3 separate regions of the Homo sapiens genome follow, and regions 1 and 3 are each linked to region 2. Evidence: promoter capture Hi-C in 16 types of primary human blood cells and fetal thymus (Javierre and others, 2016). All regions are on one chromosome and are shown on one strand. Each heading gives the region's core, a stretch centred on a gene start or on the middle of the fragment in contact. The rest is flanking DNA. Distances are from core to core; before and after follow the strand shown.

Region 1 (2,859 bases), core at 339-2,838, 240 kb before region 2:
TAGAGGATTATGTAGATTAGAAGAAAGCCAATCTGCTAGACTTGGTGGCTAGAACCAGAATGATGGTCTATATTCTCTCTCTCTCTCTCTCTGTTTCAGTGGGGTTCTTTTTAAATTTAACCTTCTAAGAGATTCAGTTATTTATATTCAATCTCTCACCCCATTGAATGAATTACTATGCACAGTTGTTTTTCTTCACAGAGAATTAAAATAAAAAGTGCTTATTTAGGAAACCTAAAGAGACAGGGAGGTATTCCAAGTCAAGCGCTTGCTTGAGTTTGCTAACAATAGGAATTATCAAGCTCCCAGTCAAGAGACAGCATCAAAAAGAAGAAAAAAAAAACTGCACAACAACTTATTTGCTGATGGAGAAACCTCTGCTCCTCATATGCACATGCATCCCCTAGGCTGATGACAACTATTTGCAGCTTATGCTTGTCCCTGTCATTGGGCCTGGAGCTTAGTTTCAGAGTTAGAGGAACCAGGGCCTCCACTGTTTTTAGTGTATAGGTGCCCAAGGGCTAGATATGGCCTACAGGCCTATTCTATGTGGCCTATATAAGATTCTTACTTTGAGACAATACTTAAATTTCAGGTTTGGAATTCAGAGGTTACCCATAAAACTCAAGATATCCGGCTGCTCTTGAAAAATCAGAATGTATGTCAACATTTGGTCTGTTTTTCTGCTGACTATATTCGGCTGGAGTTAAGTTAGAACTGCTCCCATGTAGACACAGTCCGTACCCCTCATACAAAAAATACTTGGTATACCTCACTCCTTATGTTCTCTGTATGGCTCCCATAGTATTTGAACTCGTAACCTCTCAAATGTGTAGTTCTCTAGGGAAGTTCAGCAAACGTGCTTGCCTGGCAAGAGATAGTAGACCAAAAAACTATAGCTGCATCCAACATATTAAGAGGAATAAAAAAATGAAGGCAGTCTCCAATAACAAATAGGGGGCTCTTTCAGAAGAAAGATGCTTTGGTCATTAGCAAATGACACTTTGGGCATGTAATTTATATTTTCTGAAACTCAACTGCCTGATTTGTAAATTGAAACTAATAGGGATCTAGCAATCCCGCTACTGGTTATGTACCCAAAGGAAAGGAAATCAGTATATTGAAGGGATAGCTGCACTTCCATGTTCATTGCAGTATTATTTATAATAGTTAAGATAGGGAATAAGCCTAAGAAACATCTGTATTCCCATGTTCACTGAAGCATTATTTATAATAACTAAGAGAATCAGTCTAAGTGTCCATCAACAGATGAATATACCAAAAAACTGTGGTACATATACACAATGTAATCCTATTCACCCTTTTAAAAGAAGGAAATCCTGTCATTTGCCACAACATGGATAAATAAACCTGGAGGACATTAAGTGAAATAAGCCAGGCAATCAGAGACAAATAGCATAAGATCTCATATGTAGAATGTAAAAAAGTTGAACTCATAGAAGTAGACAGTATAATGGTGGTTACCAAAGGCTGGGGGTGGGGAGTAGGGGGGAAGATGTTGGTCAAAGGATATAAAATTTCAGTTAGACAGCAGGAATAAGTTCAAAAGATCTATTGTACAATATGATGACTATAGTTAATAACAAGGTATTGTATTCTTGAAAATTGCTTAGAGGGTAGCTTTTAAGTGTTCCTACCACACACGCACAAAAAATGTGTGATGTAATGCATATGTTAATTAGCTTGATTTAGTCATTTCACAAAATATACATATTTCAAAATGATGTTGTACATAATAAATACATAGTTTTTATTTGTCAATTAAAACGTTTTTAAAAGAAACTAACAGGATTCCACCCCCGCCCCCAAAAATTGCTGATGCCATTAAATGAGATCATGCTACATGAAATCCGTAGTACAGTGCCTGGCATTTATGATTGCTAAGTAAATAAAAATAATTGTTATAATTGTAGGCATTCTTTTCAGAGACAATCACAAACTTCAGGTGCAAATGCAAGCTGGTTTTAATTTTTTGTTGTTTGTTTGTTTTTGTTTGTTTGTTTGTTTTTGAGACTAAGTCTCACTCTGTCTCCCAGGCTGGAGGCAGTGGCGCAATCTCGGCTCACTGCAGCCTCTGCTTCCCAGGCTCAAGCAATTCTCTGCCTCAGCCTCCTGAGTAGCTAGGATTACAGGTGCCCACCACCATACCCGGCTAATTTTTGTATTTTTAGTAGAGACAGGGTTTCACCATCTTGTCCAGGCTGGTCTTGAACTCCTGACCTCATGATCTGCCCACATTGACCTCTCAAAGTGCTGGGATTACAGGCGTGAGCCACTGGCTGCAAGCTGGTTTTTCTGTGTACTTCACTTATGCGTGTCTATTGAACACCTACTATAGCTCCATGCAAGGCATTGGAAACACGTATAGAACAGACGTACTTCATGTCCTTGACATGAAGAATTGAAAAGGTTAGAGAAAAGTGTATTAATAGGAGAAAAGAGTTTCTGAAGTGGACAGTACCATCTAAGAAGAAAAATTGGAAGTAAAAGGCTGGGAAGAGGCAAAGAAAATTCAAGACCAGAGTCAAGAAAAGAGTATAAGCCGGGCCCACTGGCTCATGCCTGTAATCTCAACACTTTGAGAGGCAGAGACGGGTGGATCACCTGAGGTCAGGCGTTCAAGAACCAGCCTGGCCAACATGGTGAAACTCCATCTCTACAAAAACACAAAAATTAGCCACGCATGATGGTGGGTGCCTGTAATCCCAGATACTCAGGAGACTGAGGCAAGAGAATCACTTGAACCCGGGAGGCGGAGCTTGTAGTGAGCCGAGATCACACCATTGCACTCCAGCCTGGGTGACAGAGCAAGACTCCATCTTGGAAAAAAAAAAAAGA
Region 2 (2,846 bases), core at 42-2,541:
CTGAGCATCCAATCCAAGAATCAGAATCAGTAAACAAGAGTGTCACTGGCTTTATGAGTTCTGTTCAAACAGTATATTAGCTAAAGCTGCCTCCCACCCCAAATTCCTTTTCTAATCATAAAATGTAAGTCTTGGCAGTTACCAGAAAAGGCTATTTTGTAAAAATGGCTTTCACTGTGAAATTAACCAATTCCACAGATGATAGCAGGGTCAGAAAAATAGTGCCAGAGTTCCAGAAGCTGTAGAATTAATTTGATACTTTCAACACAGGATTAGTTAACCAAAGGCCAGGTGTGGATAACAGGAAACAGGTTGTCTTAGACTCTACACTCTAACACGACTCTTGGAAAAGTCAACATTGGCATGACTCAGTTTACACTTATGCAAAAATACTAATATCTACCTCACAGTGGTAATGAGAGACATAATTAGGGTCTGCAAGCATTTTTCAGGTCACAAGATTAAAGGCTGTTTCTGAGGGTACTGCATGCATTTCCTGTAGATATGAGTACACTGCATTCTTAAATATATACTAAAAAGCGACCTCCCAGCACATATAACTAATTTTCTTTGGCAAGATTTTCTTCAGAAGTACACAGGCAACGATATTTGTAAACAAATCCTTTAGCAGGGAACTAATCAACTCTTCCGATGGCTCTAGCTTCCACTTCCGAGGCCCGCTGTGATGGTAACCAACCAGGTTCCATCTGGCTTACCAATGCTGACGTTCCCAACTTCCTAGCTGTCAGATCGATAGGAACCTGAAACTAACTGTTTCCCGTTCCTTTGAAAAGGAGAAATTACGGACCCTCGGGTTGTTTGGGCCGTAGATGAAAAAAACAAGCGGGGGGGGGGGCGCGGGGGAGGAGAGGAGGGAGGGTGGGAAGAAGAGAAAATAAAGGGAGATTGAAATATTGGGAAAAGATACGAGGGCAAGGACTGGGGACACAGTAGCCCACCAGGACCCACATAGGGTGATATCTACATAAGACTCCAGGGCAATAACGTCAACAGCTCGGTAACCCCTGCGACACCCTGACAGTCCTGCCGTCTGGAAGTGCCTTTGTCCCGGCCCGTCGGCCAGTCCCGCCGCTTCTCTCCCATACCCCTAGGCGCTCAGCCCTACGAGGCTGCCCGGAGGCCGCCTAAAAGCCGGCGGCGCTCGCGCCCGCCCCTCAGCTCGCCGGGCTCGGCGGGACATACTAACCGGCTGGTAGACGCCATCTTCACGGCGACTGCGGTGCCCGCAACAAGACACAACAGACACACCGAAAGCAGGAAGCGAATGTGGCGAAGAGACGCGCAGAGATGAGTTTTTATAGACGACTCACCCACGCAGTCGTAGCAGAGCAGGGCTACGGGTCGGGAGAAGGGCCAAGAACAGTGAGATCCCATACGTCACGTGCTTTGCGATTTCTTACGTTCTTACTCCGTTTCTGTAATTTGCTATGTTGCTAAGCGAGTCAACGTAACTACCTAGGAAAAGTCTCATGGGAACCCTGCAAAGGGGCTACAACAGAGCTACTCTCAATCTGACAGTTAAAACACAAAGAAAACCCTGGCTTCGTAGTGGTGCCAAAGCCTGCATCCCTAATAGTTTAACCACCCCTTCCTCTCCCACCTTCTCACGGCTACCTTCTCACGGCCACCACCTACCCCGCCCCCAGCCCCCCACCCCGCGTCAGGCACTCCCATTTGAGCCAGTTCTTACGTGCCCCAAGGGTGATTCTTTCTAAGAAATTTGAAATAAAAGGAGAAACTCACTTAGGTCATCCAGAACAGGTGTCTGTTCAGGATCTGTCATCAGCTAGCATGTTGTCTTCTTAGGCACGTCCTTTATACAGGTCATGTAAGTTTATATAGGTTATGGTATCTTGCCTTGCATACCCTTTTAGAATTGGCAGAAGATGAAACAAAACTACGTGAAACCAATGTGTACACAAGAGGCACGACGATATGGGCCATGCTCTGATCATTTTTTTTTCACGGCCTTTGTAACGTTGGCTGATAGCTACATATAGAAAACTTGCGAGAACATCTAGATATTGCAAAATATCCCTAGATTTATTAATTAGCCAAACTAACGTCAAAATTGTAATACCACTATTACTAACAACAATAACAGTTACCGGTGGAGAGTATTCACGTTCTTGGCGTTTTGAACAAAGAACTGGACACAACGCACAAACTAAGGAAAGAATGAAGGAATAAAGGCAGAGATTTATTGAAAACGAAAAGGTAATACCAGCTCAAGACTCCTTTTGCAGAATTTTCGGGGGTTTAAATACCCTCTAGAGGTTTCCCATTGGTTACATGGTGTACACCCTATGTAAATGAAGTAGTGGCTCCACAATCAGTCTGATTGGTTGTGGAAAGCAACCAATCAGAGGCTAAAGTGAAGTTACAAAGTTACACTCCTATGCAAGCGTCTGATTGGTTGCAGAAAGCAACGAATCAGAGATACTTTCAATTTCACATCTGCCACACGGCTAAAGTGTGTGTGTGTGTGTGTGTGTGTGTGTGTGTGGTTGTGTAGTGGGGAGGGGGTTGCAAAGGGAGTAACGTCTGGTTCTTTTGTTACTTAGGTGTGGAAAGTTGGGGTTTTCCTTTTTTTTTTTTTTTTTTGAGACGGAGTCTTGCTCTGTCGCCCAGGCTGGAGTGCAGTGGCGCGATCTGGGCTCACTGCAAGCTCCGCCTGCCAGGTTCACGCCATTCTCCTGCCTCAGCCTCCCGAGTAGCTGGGACTACAGGAGCCTGCCACCACGCCCGGCTAATTTTGTTTTTGTATTTTTAGTAGAGACGGGGTTTCACCCTGTTAGCCAGGATGGTCTTGATCTCCTGACCTC
Region 3 (3,120 bases), core at 615-3,114, 160 kb before region 2:
CACGAGTGACAGTCCATTTTCATTTTGTTCTTTGAATCTGGTCTTGTTCTTATTTCAGTGTTTTTCTTAACTTTACTGTGAGTTTGTTGAAGTATATTAAATTGAAAATGTCAGTTTATGTTTGAGTCTAAAAATAAGAATTTCATTATTGTACAAAGTAAAAGTCATTGTATTTACCAAATACATATTATCACATTTGTGTATTTGAAATACTTGACTGGCACATGAGGTAATTTAATTACAATGTACTGTGTAGTCTGTAGTTTGGTCCCTTGTAGTAGAATTGTGTTGAATGAAAGTGGCAAGGTTAAGTAGCAGATATAATGTAGTATAAGATATGATTATAAGCTTTTACATTTTCCACAATTGAAATAAAGTTAATATTACTTTTGGTTCTTTTGGTTTCTTTTAAATAATGTCTTTTCCTTATTAGGCAAGGTTAAAAAAAGAAGTGGAGAAAATTTTATTGTCAAAAAAATAGAGAAAACATGGAAAACTTTGAAAAATAAAATGGAAATCCCTCTTAATTTATCTTTCCCTCTATTTTTAAAGTTCTTATTTTTAACATAACTTGAAATAAAAGTGTGTTTACACAGCAGTATATCAGCTGCATATACTGCTGTTAACTAATCAAGGGCACAAATAAGGGAAACCTTTCTTTATTCGCTAGCTGACTTGAAATTCTTTTGTTATGACACTTAGGTAGCATCTTGAACTTTCTCTTTTCTAAAGTTGGTTTAAAGCCCTGATATTTGTAAGCTTTATAAGGGAGTCTGTCTGTGCCCAATACAGTGCATTGAACATATTATTAATTTTAAAATTATTGAATTGACCATTCTATATAACAAAAATTTCTAATTATTATCTTAGGTTAGATTTCTTGAGTTTTATAATTCTATGTCAAAGAGAAACACTATTTTTAAATTTCTTGTTTTATATTCCCAACTTTTTAAATGAAGTCTTGTAAGTGGATAAATAAAATATAGTATATATACACAATGGAATATTATTCAGTCATAAATAATGAAATCTTGTCATTTCAGACAACGTGAATGTACCTAGAGGACACTAAGCCAGGCACAGAAAGACAAATACCACATGATCTCATTCATAGGTGGAATCTAAAAGGTTGTTCTCATAGAGGTAGAGAGTAGAATGGTAGTTATGAGAGGACGAGAGGGGAGCAGGGAAAAACGGGTAGGGAAGGATGGGTTAATGGGTACAAAAAAGTTGGGAATATGTAACAAGAAACATAAAAATAGTTATTCTCTTTGATAGACATTTAGGTTGATTCCATATCTTGGCTATTGTGAATAATGCTGTAATAAACATAGGAGTGCAGATATCTGTAAAACATACTGATTTCATTTTCTTTGGATATATATACCCAGTAGTGGGATTTATCGGATCATGTGGTAGTTCTGTTTAAAATTTTTTGAGTAGCCTTCATGCTGTTTTCCATAATGGCTATACATTCCCACCAGCAGTGTATAAGGGTTCCCTTTTATCCATACCCTCATCAACACCTGCTATCTTTTGATTTTTTGAGAGTACCTATTCTAACTAGAGTGATGTGATATCTCATTATAGTTTTGACTTGCATTTTTTGATGATTAGTGATGTTGAACATTTTTTCATACACCTGTGGGTTGTTTGTATGTTCTTTTTTTGGAGAAATGTCTATGTAGGCCTTTTGCCCATTTTTTGATCAGGTTATTTGTTTGTTATTGAGTGTTTGAGTTCTTTATATTTGGGTATTAACCCTTTATCAGTTGTGTAGTTTGTAAATGTGTTCTCCCAGTCTATGACTGGCATCCTTGCTCTGTTGATTGTTACCTTTACTATGCAGAAGATTTTTAGTTTGATACAATTCCATTTGTCTATACAGGTTAAATATCCTGTATCTGAAATGCTTACAACCAGAGTGTTTTGGATTTGGGATTTTTTCAGGTTCTGGAATATTTGCATTATACTTAGTGGTTGAGCATTCCAAATCAAATTTTGAAAATTCAAAACGTTCCAATAAGCATTTAGTTCGAGTATCATGTTGGCAATCAAAAGGTTTCATAGTGGCTCACGCCTATAATCCCAACAATTTGGGGGGGTCAAGGCAGGAGGATCACTTGATGCCATCAGTTCAAGACCAGCCTGGGCAATGTAGCAAGACCCTGTCTTTACAAAAGATAAAAATTAGCTAGGCATAGTGGAGCCCACCTGTAGTCTTAGCTACTTGGGAGGCTAAGGTGGGAGGATCACTTGAGCTCAATGTTTCAAGGTTGCTAATGAGCAATGATTGTACCACTGCACTCCAGCCTGGGTAACAGAGTGAGACCCTATCTTTAAAAAAAAAAAAAAAAAATTTGGAGCGTTTTAGAGTTTTGGATTTAGAATGCTCAAACTGTTTTTGCTTTTGTTGCCCATGCTTTTCAGGTTTTGTCCAAAATATTCTTGCCTAGACCAGTGACATGGAGCTTTCCCCTATATTTCCTCCATATTTTCTTCTTGTGATTTTGTAGTTTGGGGTCTTACATTTAAGTCTTTAATCCATTTTGAGTTGAGTTTTGTCTGTGGTGAGAGATAAGAATCTAATTTCATTCTCTCATGTGGATATCCAGTTTTCCCAACACCACTTGTTGCCCTTTTCCCATTGAGTGTACTTGGCCCCTTTGTCAAGAATTAATAAACTGTAGATAGATGATTTATTTCTGGACTGTCTTCTGTTCCATTGATTTGTGTGTCTTTTTTATACCAGTAGCATGCTATTTTGATTACTATAGCTATGTAATGTGTTTTGAAGTCAAGTAGTATGATGCCTCCAGCTTTGTTCTTTTTGCTTTAGATTACTTTGGCTATTTATGTTCTCTTGTTGTCTTTCTTTATGGTTAGGTGATTTTCTCTAGTAATGTGTTTTGATGGTTTCCCTGTTATTTTTGGTGTATTTCTTATAGGTTTTTGCTTTGCAGTTACCATGAAGCTTATGAAAAAAATCTTAAAATGAGATATTTGAAACTGATAGCAACCCAACTTTGATTGTAAAGATAGGAAAAGAAAGAAAAAGCAAACTCTACTTTTAACTCCATTTTCTCCCACATTTGTAATTTTTGATGTCCCATTTTACAT

The links. Contacts are between HindIII fragments. The CHiCAGO score rates a contact against its expected background, and 5 or more counts as called.
Region 1: a fragment that was not itself captured here is called in contact with the fragment with the promoter of GTF2B in region 2 in 1 of 17 cell types (neutrophils); the score reaches 5.6 in neutrophils.
Region 3: a contact is called between a fragment that was not itself captured here and the fragment with the promoter of GTF2B in region 2, in 1 of 17 cell types (neutrophils). The highest score is 5.4, in neutrophils.

What each region holds. Positions count from the first base shown.
Region 1 is chr1:88,651,240-88,654,098 of GRCh38, forward strand. The region is part of intron 1 of PKN2-AS1 (PKN2 antisense RNA 1); the gene reads right to left. Among named protein-coding and RNA genes, the nearest start is that of PKN2, 32 kb to the right of the region's middle. The HindIII fragment of the contact is 3,212 bases long and covers 1-2,859 here.
Region 2 is chr1:88,890,276-88,893,121 of GRCh38, forward strand. GTF2B (general transcription factor IIB) reads right to left here and starts at 1,292. Exons shown (of 7, transcript NM_001514.6): 1 at 1,208-1,292. The coding sequence starts at 1,224. RefSeq lists an enhancer at 1,468-1,577. The HindIII fragment of the contact is 16,776 bases long and covers 1-2,846 here.
Region 3 is chr1:88,731,819-88,734,938 of GRCh38, forward strand. The region is part of intron 1 of PKN2 (protein kinase N2); the gene reads left to right. Among named protein-coding and RNA genes, the nearest start is that of PKN2-AS1, 48 kb to the left of the region's middle. The HindIII fragment of the contact is 2,215 bases long and covers 758-2,972 here.